Linked DNA regions of Homo sapiens: all the other regions are linked to region 3. Evidence: promoter capture Hi-C in 16 types of primary human blood cells and fetal thymus (Javierre and others, 2016). All regions are on one chromosome and are shown on one strand. The core of a region is centred on a gene start or on the middle of the fragment in contact, and the rest is flanking DNA. Distances in the headings are between cores, read along the strand shown. Region 1 overlaps ABCA1 (ATP binding cassette subfamily A member 1). Region 2 overlaps ABCA1 (ATP binding cassette subfamily A member 1). Region 3 holds the start of SLC44A1 (solute carrier family 44 member 1). Region 4 overlaps ABCA1 (ATP binding cassette subfamily A member 1).

Region 1 (4,427 bases), core at 1,656-4,155, 340 kb before region 3:
CACTTTGTTTTCATTTCAACAGTCATCTAAACAAAGTCTAATAAACACATATGGATTTTTTAAATGCTTACTTTAAAGCCAAGTTCTGGCACAAGATTTCAAAGCCCAAGTTTATATTTGTGTTTATGATTGTGTTGGCACCAGTATAATTGTAGCAAACTCATGAGGATGGAACAGGTGCCATCAAATTAAGGTCATACAAGTAGAAAAATGGGTGGAGAATTCAATCATTAGCACATGATAATATAGACTGGCCAAACTCAAAATGATCAGCATGATAGCATTTACTGCCATGCAACTTATAATTTGGTTTCAGTTGAACAACAGCTGCCTCACCACATTTAAGGTATTAATTTGAATGGTATTGATTTTGCAATTTTGGCTGCACTTAATTTGTAAATATGTATGGGTCATATAGTTGTATAATAACAGCCTATAAGAAGTTTATACCTACTTTTACTTCCTAATATTTAAGTAACACTATAATAAAAAAGGAAATTTAGTGAACAAAAGGATGCTTTGACACTTTTGTTCTTTTACAGACAGTGCAAGCATTATTCTAGTTTGAGGAAAACTGAATGAAATTCTCTCCAAAGTCCCTTATAGCCCTTTGAATCTCAGAAAGATGATCATTTTGATTACAGACATGTTAAGCTACATTAAGACAGCCAAGTGGGGATACTGGCTTAGAATCCAGGAAAAAAAAATAAAGGCAGAACAGGAACAAGAGACTTAGAAACTAACTACAGAGAAATGCATCCTAGAGATGGGATCTCTAAGGAAGGGTGTTCAGAGATAGAGAGACAAAGAGCTGACGTCTGAGTTTCAGGGAGTTCACTCTGCTCTACAGCCCTCACATCCCTCTGTGGAAGAGTTCCATTCACCTGCGCATTAAAGATGATCTCCAGATTACTCAAAGCATTATTGGCCCATCTGGGAAGTGAATGGCTTAGAACCCTCTGCAGAAATAAAACAAGTCTCAGTTATTATATTCCTCCAGGCCTGAAGGAAAGAATCCAGATTGACACCAAGATACCCAGTATTGATCTCTAAGAGTGGGGCCACTAACTCACTTCACCCACAGCTTCCAGAAATACAGGGGCCCATTAGGGGCTTTTGGAGAGCCAGGTGGCTCCCAGGGCTGCAGCAAAAGGAAAAAGTGGGGTGCTCAGGGGCGATTCGGAGCCAGGTCCTAGGGATCAGAACTCATGCCTGGGCAGTAGCACAAACCAAAGCTACTATTTCTACCTGGCTGCAAATCTGCCCTCTATGATAAGCCACATGCCATATCCGGACCACACAGTCCTGTGTCCATAAGAGCCAGATTCCATCAATCCCTGTGTGAAAACCAACACAGCTTCCTTCCCTCCCTCCCTCCTCCAATCCCCAACTCAAAACCACAAAGAAAAAATGAGAGAACCCCCCGCTGCTGAAAAACCCAAGCTTACTGTTTGTCTTCTTCTGAAAGTGAGGTTCTTCCACAGCAGCAACCTCAGCTGAGGCCAACAAGCCATGTTCCCTCAGCCAGCACCCCCAGCGTGTGGCTCGGGAGCCCTGGAAGGCAGCGGCCAGAGCTCACAGCAGGGACGCCGTGGCTGGTCATTAACTGAAAGATAAAGCAGGAGGGGAAACAGCCATCAGTTATTGCTGCAAAGCCATACACCAATGAGGACTGCTAATCCAGCCCTCTCAGCTGAGACCTCCAACACACAGCTCTGCATCATGACTGCTTCTCAATGGATCATGAGTCACCAGCTCCCAGCCTCTGGGTTCACCCACAAAGAGGGACTCGGGAGGTGTTCCGACAGCAGGCTAGGAGCTACGTGTTATGGTCCTAATCATTTTAGTTCTATAGATGTTATCATCTGGGAATGAAGAATGCATTTCTGAAAATAGACCTCTCTCAGGTGGCCAAAAACACTGAGGATGGAAATGGCATACTGGAATCCCAGAGACCTACCTCTCTTTTCTAAGAAAATGCCTCCCCTTACATACAAAGTCAGCAGCATTTGTAAATTTTGCCTCAAGCCTGGAGTGACTTATACTATTCCCTGAACTTCCTTACATACTAATTTTCAGTGGGTTATACAACTGAGTCCTTCAAATGATAAAAAGCACCATCGGCCAGGCGTGGTGGCTCAAGCCTATAATCCCAGCACTTTGGGAGGCCGAGGCAGGCGGATCACGAGGTCAAGAAATCGAGACCATCCTAGCCAATACGGTGAAACCCCGTCTCTACTAAAAATACAAAAATTAGCTGGGCATGGTGGCAGGCACCTGTAGTCCCAGCTACTTGGGAGGCTGAGGCAGGAGAATCGCTGAACCTGGCAGGCGGAGGTGCAGTGAGCCAAGATTGTGCCACTACACTCCAGCATGGCGACAGAGCGAGACTCTGTCTCAAAAAAAAAAAAAAAAAGCACCATCAATAAAGCAGTTTCCTAATCTGGAAAACCACAACGTGCCTTAGATGAGTGTGAGTAAACACCAAGAAAATGCTACCGACACCTGGCTCTCAGGTAATGAGGACAACCCTAGCGCTGTGTCTCTGGAAAGAAAACAGCATCCCATGGAGAAACAAGTCTGCTATGGCAGGCTCAGGGCATCAACTGTGAAACCGACAAACAAGCTCCCATGGTCAGCACATATGCACACTTCTGGCCTTGTTCCACCTGCACCTGAACACACCGCCCCCCTACTCCGTTGGGTGTCACAGGTGCCTCCTTGGAGGACTGTTTGCCATGCTAGGGCAAGAAGGTCTTCTCGTGAACAAGGGATACTACATTCTGTGTATCCCAGCCACCCATCCAGCAGTTACCCTTATTTAATGCTGGAATAGTCCCAAGTAGTTATATTAAAGTTAAAGCTGGGGAGGGGGCAGAAGATGAAAAATGGAAGGGAGGACACACAGGTGAAAATTCGGCCCTGCTGGCACTTGGTAGCCATGAACTCTCCTAGCTGTGCTTATGAAATGGCTCAGTGAATCACTGTGGCCTCTAGAGGAGTAGGGGCAAGGGTAGGGTGGGACACTGGGCATGAGGAACAAGGAGCAGAAGGAACTAAGAATGCAGTAGCGAGGTATGGATACAAAACCAAGCGCTAGACTAGAAATCTGTGAGTCCAAATGAGATCTCCATGCCAAGGTCAGTCTCTAGTAGAACAATACCCTTTTATCTACCACCCAACAAGGACTTGGATTAAAACTTCTAGAAAAGTCAAGAGATTGGAGGAAATTGCAGTGTCTGAGAAGAAAAGACAGCCTACCACTATGTATTCCAATTCATTCATTGACAGTCCAATAAATCAAGAAATTCTCTGAAATAGTCAAGCCTTAGGACCTATTTCTTTTCCTTACCATTTGCTCAGCAAACTTCTAGAAGGACACAGGCCTCCAAAGTTTCTTACTCCAAAAAGAGGAAGAGTTAAACCAGCACTGCATCAGTTTGTTCAAAGATGACAACTGGCAGCACAGCACTGGCAACCAGAGCAGCATTGTGAGACACATGCTTGTCATCCCAAATTGTTTTCTAAGTGGCTCAGGACAGAGCTTGCATTCCAGAGACACTGAAATAAATAATTAGCTAGATTTTTCTCATACAGAAGCTGCTCTCCAGGAATCAGTTCGTTGATTTAGAAGCTACATGAATCTCTTGAAATCCCCAAGGTAACAATGAGGAGGGGACAATTAAAAAAGGAAAACTATCAGAAAGAGCCCAGGCATGAATTAGCCCCGGCTTCCCAACTATGTGCCCCTGGCCAAGGCTTTATGCTCTCTAAGCATCAATTTCCTCATGGTAAAATAAGGATGACAATACTTACCTTGTATGGTGTTCAACTGTGTTCTACTGTGGATTCAACGAGATAATATAAATAATTTCCCAACACAGTACATGGCTTAATTTAAGTGCCAAAGCAATGTGAGTTCCCTTCTCCCCATTTATCTTTCTTCATTCCAACAATATCCTCTAGCTGAGAAATGGTTATATCCTGTCCAAACAGGACGTTCCATTATTTCTAGCAAATCCATTGTGGGTTTCTGGAAAGATAGGAGGGGCAAAGCAGTAAGGATGAAATCTTAATAGCCTAGTGTTGCAGTACCCAGAGCCAAACCCAAATATAGAATATCACCTCCCCTAAACCCTGAGTGGAAAAGCTCAAAGGAAGAGAAGACACACCTCTACACAACGTTCATGAGAAGAAGGGAAGGATGAGTTTTCTTGGACAGCATTTTCTTGGAAGTAAAGTGTCTGGGTTTCAAGAAAAAGGTTCTGACTCCAAGGACTCTCCAGGAAGCACATGGAGAAGGTTGCTAAGAAGTAGCATAGAGCCACAGTAGAAAGTTCTACCGTGGCTTTGCTGGGCACACTTAGGCAAGCTTCCTGCTCCAATTCCTCCCACCCACCTTGGCACTGACCTGGCCTCCTGCACAA
Region 2 (3,887 bases), core at 789-3,288, 370 kb before region 3:
TGACAATGAGGACCCCTATAAAAGGGCTTGAGGGAGAGGCTTCAGTCCCTTCTGCCAGTTGAGGAAATGGCGTTTGTCCCCTCCTAAGGATGCAGCAACAAGGCACCATCTTAGAAGCAGAGAGCAGCCCTCACCAGACACCAAACCTGCCAACACCTTGATTTTGGATTTCCCAGCCTCCAGAACTGTGAGAAGTAAATTTCTATTGTGTATAAATTACTCAGTCTCGAGAATTTTCTTCTAGCAGCAGAAACAGAATAAGACAATACCCATGTCTTACTGAGAAGAGGGAAGGTGGGAGAAGTTACTGGAAGTCCCTAGAATGAGGGTTGAAGACCCTGAATGGTAACAATTCCCCCAAAGAGCCAGTGCAGCCCCAGAGGGAAAGGATGTCCTGGTCACACTGGCCAGGGCGTGGAAGGGCACAGTCAGCCTGGCTTTGAAGCTCAGAAGGAAATGGAAGATAACACTAAGACATAACATTGACCCAAATGAATTTTGGACCTGAACAGAATGAGAAGAAGAAACAAAGAACCAACATCAGAAAAAGCAAGAAGATAGCTGAGATGAAAACTCTACCTGAAGACCAGAGAGGCAGAAAAATGAGAGAGGACAGCTGGAAGACAAAAGGAGTGAAAAGAAGGTAAGAGATAGGAAGTATGAAGAAACAGAGTCCAGAAACAGGAAAGACTACATCAAACAGAAGGGGAAGAGAGAAAAAGAAAAGAGAGTTTGAGGCATTCAGTTCCCAAGGATGAGCTGGTCTCTCACTGAAAAAAGGGACCAGACACTTCAAACACCACACAACATGGGACTAGAATCAGCCTGCAGGGCCCTGAGAAGTCCAGGCACAAAAAGAACGGAAAAAGATGAGTTTACAAGTTGGGGATGAGATTCTTCCTAAGGCTGGTCTAGGGAAGAATTAACATACACAATGTATAAATAGTTTAATTTTTTTCTAACTTTTAAAATTAACAAAATTTATTAAGGGACATAGTAGTGCTTTGTGGGCACAGAAAAGTGACTCATATTTACCAAGCATTAGGCACACTATTAGCATTATTTTCCAGAATCTTTAAGAACAGCCTATAAAGAAACGTATTATTATTCCCATTTTTCAAATGAGGAAACAGATCTGGAGAATATCTTGCTCAGGGTCATAGAACAAACAAGTGGTAAATTTGAACCCAAACAGCTTTGACTGCAAAGCTTTGGTTCTTTCCACTATATCAGCAATTTAATGAGATGTTTTAAAAATGCTTCATCGTGATATTGGCCTCAAAAGCTGGGGATGGCACCTATGCTTCCTAATGTTGGAATAAGCAACATGGCAGCATAGTGTGGGGAGAAAATGCTAAGCCTAGGAGTCAGACCCCGATTCAACGTACAACTTTACTCTTTAATCTTGGACAACAGACATTACCCTTTCGAGCCTCGGTTTCCTCATCAATGAAATGGAGATAATAATACCAATTTGCCCCTGCTAGTGCTGTTTGAAGCCTTCAATGTAATAATATATGAAAAATGTAAAATGGTATCATTATCCGGTGCAACTTAGTCTGTTGAATAGTGTCGCACTGAGATTGCCTTTTGGTGCCTCAATGCAACAGTGACAAGAGGACCAGAAATGGGAAAGCTTTCAATGAGAAACAAACTGGACTCCCAAATTGCTCTTTGCCACCCACAGAATAAATAAACCTTATGCTGGAAAAGCAGGAGACACGCAACACTGTTCTTGATGTTAACAATTCAAAACTTTTTAAAGGCAGTCTGATATTTGTGGGGATACACACTATTCTGTAATCGAATGCAATTGTGTTTTCTATTCTTGTCTGAGTAAAGCTGATCTTTGATTTGATTTAGTTCAAGTAATATTTCAACATTGCAGTGCAGCGTTGCTCCCCACCCCCACCTGCTTACAGCCCAGCTGGGCCCAGGCCCTTGCCCTGGATGGAAATCAAAGACCTGGTTTCTGAGATGCAGCCTGGCTTTGACAGGTCTGGGAAAACTCATGGTAGTGGAAAGGTTTCCAAATATAAAATTCTAAGGCCTCAAATCAAAACTTTTGACAAGTGCATACATACAGAACGTGAATTGCAATCACCTAAAGATTTCAAAGAATTTCCATTTTGATGACATAATGTTGACACATGTATCACCAGATCTCCCAACAAGATGACACACTGGGGTTCCACAAGGACAGAAAATATAGTCTGAGGCTGTAACCTCAACTTTAGCAGCTGCCTGAATGGGTGAGGGGGTTCAGACAGAAAATGAGAAGTGGCTGTGAGTCACAGGATGTTCTTTCTAGATGGGCCTTGGGAAACATTCCATCGGTGCCTGAAGCCAGGAAGTGGAGTGAATCTGGCATTTCTTTCAGAAGCCCTCTTGTCTCCTTTCTCATCCCAGCCAGCCCATGCCCCATGTCCTGTGACTTTAGGGAAGCTTCTGGCTACTCAGAGCTGCTCTCTTTAGGATATAACAACAACAGAGCACGAGAAACTGGAATTCTGGTCCTATTACTGCCCCTTGCCAGCTGTGCTTTCTTAGGCAAGTTACTTGGCCTCTCTGAACTTCGGCTCCTTCATGTGTGTATCCCCTGCATTTTATGATGATTGTAAAAATGCAGTGAGCTTAAGAACAAGCCTGGTACCTATGCTGGGCCAGGCACTGTACTAAGTGCTTCCCCTTATTCGTCCATTAATTTGCCACAATAGTCCTGAGGGAGGTACTATTGTTATTCCATTTGAGGAAACTGAGGCACAGAGATGTATGGAATTATCCAAGGTTACACAGCTGATAAGCATCAAGCCAAGATTTGAACCTAGGCCATCTGGCTGCCAAGTCTGTTCTCTTAACACGAAGGTATATTTCCCAGGGAATATTTACAAGATGTTAATTTTCTACCCACTTCCCTCAACTCCCTGCCACAGCCAACTATCTTGCCATGTCACCAAAGCCACCCTGCTCCCTGGAGCTCACGTCTTTTTGATTTTCAAAAATCAAACCAGAATCAAAGGTCCACCCCACTGAGTCCTTAGTACTATCAGTAAATCTGACAGCCAGAGAGGCATGACCCTTTTCCCTAAGTAAAATCCAGTATAACCCTGGGGACTAATTTCCAAAAAGATTAGTCAGAGCCATATCAGAAAGGCCAAACAGGCTGGGCATGGTGGCTCACACCTGTAATCCCAGCACTTTGGGAGGCCAACGCACCTGAAGTCAAGAGTTCAACATGGCAAACATGGTCAGGAGTTCAAAGATGGTCAGGAGTTCAAATGGCCAACATGGCAAAACCCCGTCTCTACTAAAAAATACAAAAATTAGCCAGGCCTGGTGGTAAGTGCCTGTAATCCCAGCTATTCGGGAGGCTGAGGCAGGAAGAATTGTTTGAACCCGGGAGGCAGAGGTTGCAGTGAACCAAGATCGTGCCGCTCCACTCACTCCAGCCTGGGCAACAGAGTAAGACTCCGTCTCAAAACAAAAACAAAAACAAACAAACAAACAAAAAAACAGAGCCGGGCGCAGTGGCTCATGCCTGTAATCTCAACACTTTGGGAGGCTGAGGCAGGTGGATCAACAGGTCAGGAGTTCGAGACCAGCCTGACCAACATGGTAAAACCCCATCTCTACTGAAAATACAAAAATTAGCAGGGCAGCCAGCCGCCCCGTCCGGGAGGGAGGTGGGGGGCAGCCCCCGCCCGGCCAGCCGCCCCGTCCGGGAGGGAGGTGGGGGCCAGCCCCCGCCCGGCCAGCCACCCCGTCCGGGAGGGAGGTGGGGGGCAGCCCCCGCCCGGCCAGCCGCCCCGTCCGGGAGGTGGGGGGCGCCTCTGCCCGGCCGCCCCTTCTGGGAAGTGAGGAGCCCCTCTACCCGGCCGCCGCCCCAT
Region 3 (4,103 bases), core at 1,393-3,892:
TTTCTCCCAAAAGAAAAAGAAAAACAACCTAAGCCCCTACGAAGGGGCTTGCCCTGGTAACATCTCACCATAGTAGATAAGTACCCTGATCACTGGCTTAAGAAAAAAAAAATCCCTTTTGTGATTTCTGAGTTTGCTGTGGTTTAATTTCATTGAATGCTGTGTGTACTTGTTTATAAGAGTGAAAAGGAATAGTAATTTGCCCCTCTCTAAATCACTCCTTTTACGAGGCTTTTTTTGGGCATGAGGGGGATGGGAAAGAGACTCATTCTTAGAAGGTACAGCATATCAATGCAAGAGCTGTTAGTTTCCCTCATGCTAATGACGAAGTATAATTTTGAAACATCAGATTCATATGCATATATGGTGCATACATACATAATTGGTGTATTTACAAAGCACCTTGCAGAATCTTAGAACTCTTAGTTCTATTAACACTTAAAGGGAAAACCAGAGTGCAGATCAGTCAAGCACAACGGACTGTAGTTGCTTTCAATTATATTCACCCATTATCTATGTCTAGGAAAGAGATCTCTAAAAAAGCAAAATACATTTTATGAAGCACTGCCACAGTCTGTTACGCATTTATCTCCTTCTACAGTTCCAATTACAGAATAAGCACTAGCTACTACACGGAACGGCAGCACTAGCCAAAAAGATTTTTCTAATCTGAGAGAAATGCTCCCATATTGACTCTGCAAAGAGAAACAACTCCCCTTTCCTTGACTATAAAGAAGGAAGACAGATGGCTTCTTGTTTAGGACTGTAGTTTTACTTTCAGCCTCCTCCCCGAGTTAAAAACAAGATGTACTTTTCTGGCTTTGAGGGAAAATCTCAAGGGAATGTTTTTTATTCTTGGCTGCACTGAATAATTCAACAAACATTTGAGAGAGCTGAGGGAGATACAAAGGAGAAAATACTTTTCCTTGTTCTCAGGGAGTTTACAATCTAATTCTGGAGTTTACAACCAGAATTGGGACTAGAACCATTAGTTTTATGTCTTCACTTGTATTTATTGGTTTAATGGTTATGGGAAACACATGTAGGATTCGCCAGCTCCGTGGTATGGTGGACCCTCTGATTAACCTGAAAGGAAACTAGAAAGAATGCAGAAGAATTCAAGATCTCAATCAGTTGAGTACTTGCTGACCTAGCAGCACTTTCTTATGTTATTTAATCTTGACCACAAGCCTTTGCAGTCATCCCTGCTACCAGCATTTCACAGAAGCGGACAATGAGATTTGGAGAGATAACTCGTCCACAGTCACGAACTCAGGAAATGGCATAGGAAAACATCAATTAGGAATTCTTCTTCCCTGGCCCTTTCTGTAGCTGTCCCCTTACAGGCTACCATTCCAACTTTCCTTGGCTTAGATTCCCTTTCAGTGCATGTAAAGTCAATTTAATTCTGTGTTCTTTTCTTCCCTCTATACTTTAACTAATCTTTAAAACTTGATGTCTCATATTTGGTGAATCAGTCCTTTTGGAAGTCTCACTCCCTTGCAGCTTTGCAAATAAAGTTTTTCTTTTCTTTCCTGTGGCTGTCTTTTGAGACATTCTTTGACAAGATGAAATGACATATGAAGGCTATAACAGTGCCTGATAATGTGGGGTTTTTTTTAACATCATTATCTTTAGTTTTATTTCTTTCACTTTTTAACTGTTTTCACCTCATACTGTATTTCCTAACGACTCGTTTGGAATTGTAAATTTCTTGAAGGTAGTTACCACGTCTACTCTAACTTGTTGCTACTTCCTTGAGTCTTACTGATTTAGCAACAGGAACTTGGTAAGTCTCTTTTGCTCGCCTCTTTATTCCCAGTACTAGTCACTGGAACGTAGTGTGTCTTCAGTAAGTATTTTTAATATGAATAAATTAATGTCCCCTTATTGTTTTTTGTAGACTATCCTGTATAAGAAAGTTTAGCTTAGATCCAGTATGGCTTTGACTTGCGAGCCTGGATAACTTTTTGCCTTTTCCTCATTTCTGGCTATTTATTACCATTTCAACCTTGGGAACATTTCATTAGGTTCTTGGTCCCTTTCAAGCCTCAGTTTCCACATCAGCAAAATGGGGACAGTAGCAACAGATGCTTGTTTCTTCCCGTCTTCTTATCACCTATTCCTTCTCCAGGAAAGGTTTCTTGTGTACGCTTTCCTCTGGAGAAAAAAAACAGCCGACGGGGCGGTAAGAAGCCATCAGGATCCTGAGTTGTGCGTCCAGTAGGGAGAGGGAGAAGTCCCGCTTGCCTCCTAGATCCGGAAGCAATCCGGCCCCTTTTTGGCAGCGAGTTGGCCCGGTCTTTGGCTGCCTCAGACCGCGTTGCCCTCCAGCCTCGAGGCAGAGAGCTGCCTCGGTGCCACAGCTAAATAAGCCCGGCGCCGCGCAGCCTCTGACACGCGCGGAAGGGCCCGGCCTTGTTCTGGCTGCCGCCGCCCTGCCACCAGCACGGCGCTGCACTGGGGGCGGGGAGTCTGATGGGAGACGCGCGCGGCGCTGAGGAGGCGGCGGCCCGGGAGAGGGAGCGGGAGAGGGACTGGGCGCGGGAGGCGGGAGGCGGGGGGACAGAGGGAGGCGCCGCCGCCGCCGCCGCCCGCCCCTTTCCGCTGGGGAGCAGCTGCTGCAGCAGGAGCAGAGCAGGAGACGCGTAGCCGCCGTCGCCGCCGCCGGGGGATGTGGCCGGCGCCTGCCTCTAGCCGCGCCGCCTCTTGAGTACCAGCCGCCGCTGCAGCCGCCGCCGCCGCCTAGCCGTGCGGTGCCAGGCCGCGCCCTCCCCGGGCGCCCGCCGGCTCGCATGCCGAGGGGCTCCGGGGCGTAGCTGCGCGCCCGGCGCCGCCTCCGGGCTCCTTCGGCCCCGCCATGGGCTGCTGCAGCTCCGCCTCCTCCGCCGCGCAGGTGAGGGGCTCCCGCCTCCCGGCCGCCCGCCCGGATGCCTCCCGTGCGCCGCGTCGCGCGGCGGGCGCCCGCCGCCCGATACCTCTCGCTGTCCCCAGCCTCCCCTGAGCGCACCGTGCAGTCCAAAGACCCCCACTCCGCCTTTCCGTCCGCCGGGTCCCGCCGATGCCCGTGCGCTGGCTCCGCGGCTGCCGACTCAAAGGCGCCTCTGCGCGGCGCCTAGTGCGCCCTCAGCTCTTCCCGGCCCCTTCCCCAGTCGGCCCCCTCCTCCCAGTCACACCTGAGCTGCCCGTCCCGCCCGCCTGCAGGTAGAGGCTGCACTGGCGCCTCCTCTGCCCCAGGTGGCATCCCCTTCCCTGTTCTTCCGGGCCTGGCTCCTCTCTTCCACCTCCGTGGAGTCTCCCCGCCATCCGCCGCCCGTTTTCTGTGCTCCTCGCAGGTGTACCCCCAGCAAGAGCTCTTCACCTCTCCCACCGAATTCCAGTTTCTGCTTCATTAGATATTCTGTCCCTTTTCTCTTGCCCGCTGCCCCCTGGCTGGGTTCAGATGGTTTCAGCGGGTCCCGGAGCCCTTCCACGGCCCGCTCCGCAGACCTCGCTTGCTCGCTTGCACCCCATCCCCCCTTAGTGCCGTGACCCGGGCCCCGCGGCCTCCCCGCACTCGGAGGCCCCTGCGGGAGCGCCGACTCTGGGCTGGGAAGGAGATTGGGCACCTGGTGGGTGACGGGAGCGCTACGGAAACTCCCTCTTTGTTGCCAGTGTAACAGGAGGAAGAGGTTCCGAATTTAGTTTTTCTGTGGGCACTGGCTGAATGTTGTCGCTGAGGGCTGAGATGCAGAGATTTCTCTCAGCTTCTACCCTGCCCCCATCCAAATTTCGCCAACCTCCTTCTCTCGGATCCGAGCCCTTAACCTGGGTGGAAATGTTTAGACAACTGTACGAGGATCAAATGTAATAGAACTCGACTACTGGCCACTAATAACTGAGAGGACCTGTTTGTAAATTACCTAATTTAGTGGATTAGCGAGTGTATTTACAAATACTATAAAAAGCAATCAGGAATACTGCATCAAACTGTCTTGTGGTGGTGTATGAAAAATAGGCTCTGACAACGCCTGGGATGTAATCTCACAGTTTCATTAGCGTAGTTTCATTAACTGTGGTCTGTGATTTGTTTGTTTTAGGGGGCAGAAAAGGGCTCTTGTTTT
Region 4 (4,165 bases), core at 627-3,126, 390 kb before region 3:
GAGGTGAACATAGAGTCTGAAGAGTAAATCTACACAGTGTGTCATTCCACCCATTACCAACCCATGGGGATTGCGGCTGCTTGCTGGGAGAAAGCAAGTAAACAGGTGGGCAGTCAAATCACACAAAGCCAAACAAAATCTGATACTTTCCAACAATGTCCGGGTTCCAGACAGGAGAACACGAGCAAGTGTTCTCTCCTGCAAAAACCCACACAGACGCTTTAAGGACTGCATGTAACAAGCTGAAGTATCTAGCCCTAAAAAGCCATGAGGCTGAAGGTAACAACAAGCCCCATCTGTATTCTGGGTCCTTGTCTAAGAGTCAAGAAGAAGCTAAATAAAGACCCCTCAAGACAAGGATGACTTTGTTCACTCCTTATCCATCTGCTTCTTCGATCTGTACACAGCTCAGCTGTGACATTACTTGTCTTCTGGGAGCCTCGGGGCACCCTCACTTTCCCTTCTTTCCCTCATGAACCAAGATCCACTTGGTGGGAATGTGCTAGGCACACTGGAAGACACGTGGACAGTGGAACCACTGGTTCCACAAAAACCACTTCTTTTTTTTCCCCACGTTATTGAGATGGAGATAAATCTGCATGCCTGGACTTCCAACCTTAAGGATCAGACACCATTTTCACATCACTGAGGCAATGGTGAGTCAAGGACAGAGCCCAAACCTAGCTCATTCAACCCCACATTCCTCCCACTACAGCCCACAGTGTCTGTGTTGGCAAAGACTGCTGTGAGGGAGCTGGTCGAGAGGTCATCAGTGAAACTGGAACGAGGACAGCTCTCACTCTGTAGACCCAGGACCTACAAAGAATTCCTCAAATTCCCAGACTCAGCCTTCAGCCTGGATCTCAATGCCCATCAGAATGAAAGCTCCAAGTGCATCACAACTGCCTTGTTGGTGGTCGAACTTCAGTGCCTAGAACAGTGCTGGTATAAAGCAGACATACAATAAACACTTGATGGATTTTTTTCGATGAATGTCTCATACCTAGTTCAGAGATGTTCTCCTCCCAAAGTCACCTCTGTTTGGTTTGTACATTAAAAACCCTAATAGGTGATGCTTATTATGCTTTAGAGTCACTTTCCAAATATGGGCAAGAAAAAGCAGAGAGCTGCAGAGGGGTCAACAAAAGCCAAAGGCACTGAGGGAACACTTCAAATATATGATAAACTATTCCTTCCAATCAAGAAAGCTACAGCAGACTGAATATCCCCTGCAAAGATGTCCACACCCTATTCCTGGAGTCTGTGAATATGCACATTTCATAGCAAATGCACTGTGTAGATGTAATTAAAGTTATGAACCTCAAAATAAGGAGATTATCCTGGATTATGTGAATGGGCCCAAACTAAACACCTGAGCCCTTAAAAGTAAAGAACTTTCTCTGACTGGAGACAGATGTGACAGGAGGCGTCAGAGGTTTAAAGTGTGAGAGATACTCAACCCACTTGTGGGAGAGGAGTCACATGAAAAGCATAAGAAGGAATGATGGCAACCTTTAGGAGCAAAAACCAGCCCCTGCTGACAGCCAGCAAGGAAATGGACTTCAGTCCTACAACTGCACGGGACTGAATTCATCTGATATCCTGGATGAGCTCCAAAGCAGATTCATCTTCAGAGCCCCCCCAAAAAAACACAGCCCCACAAACACCTTGATATCAGCCCTGTGAGCCTCTAAGAAGTAGACCTAGGTGAGCTCTACTGTATCCTGGCTTCTGGCCTTATGAAATAATAAATGTATGTGGTTATAAACTGCTAAGTATTTGGTGACTTGTTATAGTAGCAATAAAAAAAAAAAGTACAATCGGAAGCAAATCAATCTCTCGGGCCAAAATTTGCTGGTCCACTACTATGGCTCCTTCCTGCAGTCCAAAACAGATTGGAGGTTTCTGTGAGACAGGAAGGTGGCCCTCTCCTCGCTCTGGGAAAGGTACATGCTGCTTTAGGAAGGACCCAAGAGAAAGTTAAGAAAAGTTCACCTGCCCAGCACACTCTACAGCAAAATACACCTTGCTGAGCAGCAAGACAAAAGAAGCCCCTGCCAGGTGGCCCTGAGCTCCTCCTAGAAGTTGTTAACTCAACAGTACAAATACAATGAGCGCACTCCATAACAAGTCTCCCTCATGACTAAGTGCATTTATCCCACAGATAATATTTCATATATCCACCCACCTTTGTTCTCATCAAAAGGATATCTTTTGAGTTGAGTCCAGCTCCTAGAAAATACCTGACACATAATAAGAACTGAATAAATATTGCTCAATGCATGAGTAAGATTTTTAAGTAAAAAGCAGAGAACACCTAATGGAAACTGCTCTTAACCCCAGGGAACTTTAAAAACACAACAGCGTTCTGACATCCAGTATTAATTTTCACACAAGGTACGGACTGAGACATAAATAAGAATCTTTGGGTGAAAAGTCTTGACAATATCTGAGCAAGAATGCAGTTTTTCACTGAAATACTCACCAGGACCACTTCGCTTGGTATGAGTTCTAACACTGATCTACAGAAGAAAACTTCTATCTTTTTTTTCTTTTTCTGAGACAGAGTCTCACTCTGTCACGCTGGCTGGAATGCAGTGGAGTGATCTCAGCTCACTGCAACTTCCACCTCCTGGGTTCAAGCGATTCTTGTGCCTCAGCCTCTTCAGTAGCTGGGATTACAGGTGTGCGCCACCACGCCTGCCTGGCAAATATGTGTATTTTTAGTAGAGAGGGGATTTCACCACGTTGGCCAGGCTGGTCTTGAACTCCTGGCCTCAAGTGATTCATCCGCCTCGGCCCCCACAATATGCTGGGATTACAACAGATGTGAGCCACTGTGCCTGGCTGAAAACTTCTATCTTGACGCAATTGTTTTCAAGGACATAATTTCTACTACTCATGTCAATTAAATTATCAACTTCTATTTATTGAGCACCTATTGTGTGCCAGGCCCCACACCAGGCTCTTCATATGTGTAACCAATAATCACAACAAAGAGTCAAATATATTATGTGTATGTAGAAGAAGAGAAAACTGAGGCTTACAGGGACTAAATAATTTATCCGACATCAATGCTGGTAAAATATTCAAATGCAATATTCAAACCCAGACCCAGCTGACCCTCCCACACTGCCATACTTTCCCCATGTTGCCAAAACACTGCTTTCCAGAGCACCCAGATTCTGAAGGAGGCCCAGGAGAAACTCACAATACCCTTGGCTGGAAACAGGGAAACACTCACGCACACACAAAAGGAGAAATGTTTCAAAATATGTCTCTCGTGAAATTCCACTTTTGGTACAGAAGCACATATTGAAAGAAGAGTTTCTCTCCCCATCATGTTGGGCTTTGCATCTCCGGTTGCTGCTACTGCTGCACTTCTTGGCACAGTTAACTGCCCATGTGCAATGTCATCACATGTCACATCCATCTACCATCACAAATGTTGAAATTTCAACCAAGCAGCAATAGAAAAAGGCTGCTTAATGCAAATCAAGTATCAGTCCCAGCATTCCAATTAAGGCCCTGCTTAATTCAATAAGTAAGAGTCACATTTCAAAATGTTTGGAAGTCATTTCATCCTAAAGCCTTCCTCAGAAATCATCTTTACACAAAACAATCCTGATCACTCATTCTACTCTAACTCAAGAGCCCCATTTTGAAGAGAGGTCTCTTGGTAACAGCAGAGGGGCAGAAGCAGAACCTGAGTGCTCCACAAACCCGAGATATGCAGAAAGCACCTGGTAGTAGCCACCTTAATCAATACCTGGTCATAAACCAACGCATCCACAAGGCACAACCACAACACAGCAGGATGGGACACAGTGTAGCTGACGGTTCTGAAGGTGCATTTCCCTGCACTCTGTCACGCTGCTAATCCTCCCAGAGAGATACTGTCAGGTTGAAACCTGAGCTGTTAATTATCAGATGATGAGGGCTAAACAGTCATTCTACTATGAGTATAATTCAGGCATTGTGTGAGTGGAGGGATTTTACCGGGTTGTGTACACAATAGGTGTTTAATGAGTAAACAGAAGTGAAATGGAATGAATGGGCACAGCACCGGAACAAATTACAATGTCTTCTAAAAACACCCATCTTTTCCAAAATTTCAATCATTCCAGCTGAAAGGGTGAGCATTTGTCATGCAGTGAAGCAGCCC

What was found. The method cuts DNA at HindIII sites, captures the fragments that hold promoters and counts their contacts. A CHiCAGO score of 5 or more calls a contact.
Region 1: a fragment that was not itself captured here is called in contact with the fragment with the promoter of SLC44A1 in region 3 in 1 of 17 cell types (neutrophils); the score reaches 5.9 in neutrophils.
Region 2: a contact is called between a fragment that was not itself captured here and the fragment with the promoter of SLC44A1 in region 3, in 1 of 17 cell types (monocytes). The highest score is 7.3, in monocytes.
Region 4: a fragment that was not itself captured here is called in contact with the fragment with the promoter of SLC44A1 in region 3 in 1 of 17 cell types (monocytes); the score reaches 5.3 in monocytes.

The regions. Positions count from the first base shown.
Region 1 is chr9:104,902,166-104,906,592 of GRCh38, forward strand. ABCA1 (ATP binding cassette subfamily A member 1) reads right to left here. Exons shown (of 50, transcript NM_005502.4): 2 at 1,449-1,606. The coding sequence starts at 1,514. Among named protein-coding and RNA genes, the nearest start is that of ABCA1, 24 kb to the right of the region's middle. RefSeq lists an enhancer at 1,008-1,920. The HindIII fragment of the contact is 2,929 bases long and covers 1,442-4,370 here.
Region 2 is chr9:104,871,093-104,874,979 of GRCh38, forward strand. All of the region lies in intron 5 of ABCA1 (ATP binding cassette subfamily A member 1), which reads right to left. Among named protein-coding and RNA genes, the nearest start is that of ABCA1, 55 kb to the right of the region's middle. The HindIII fragment of the contact is 809 bases long and covers 1,635-2,443 here.
Region 3 is chr9:105,242,009-105,246,111 of GRCh38, forward strand. SLC44A1 (solute carrier family 44 member 1) reads left to right here and starts at 2,643. Exons shown (of 16, transcript NM_080546.5): 1 at 2,643-2,896. The coding sequence starts at 2,861. It overlaps LOC112268038 (a long non-coding RNA gene), which reads right to left and starts at 3,585. Exons shown (of 3, transcript XR_002956866.2): 1 at 3,011-3,585. RefSeq lists enhancers at 2,285-3,189, 3,190-4,093 and silencers at 2,416-3,015, 3,026-3,165, 3,506-3,585. The HindIII fragment of the contact is 7,272 bases long and covers 1-4,103 here.
Region 4 is chr9:104,852,656-104,856,820 of GRCh38, forward strand. The region is part of intron 7 of ABCA1 (ATP binding cassette subfamily A member 1); the gene reads right to left. Among named protein-coding and RNA genes, the nearest start is that of ABCA1, 73 kb to the right of the region's middle. The HindIII fragment of the contact is 9,731 bases long and covers 1-4,165 here.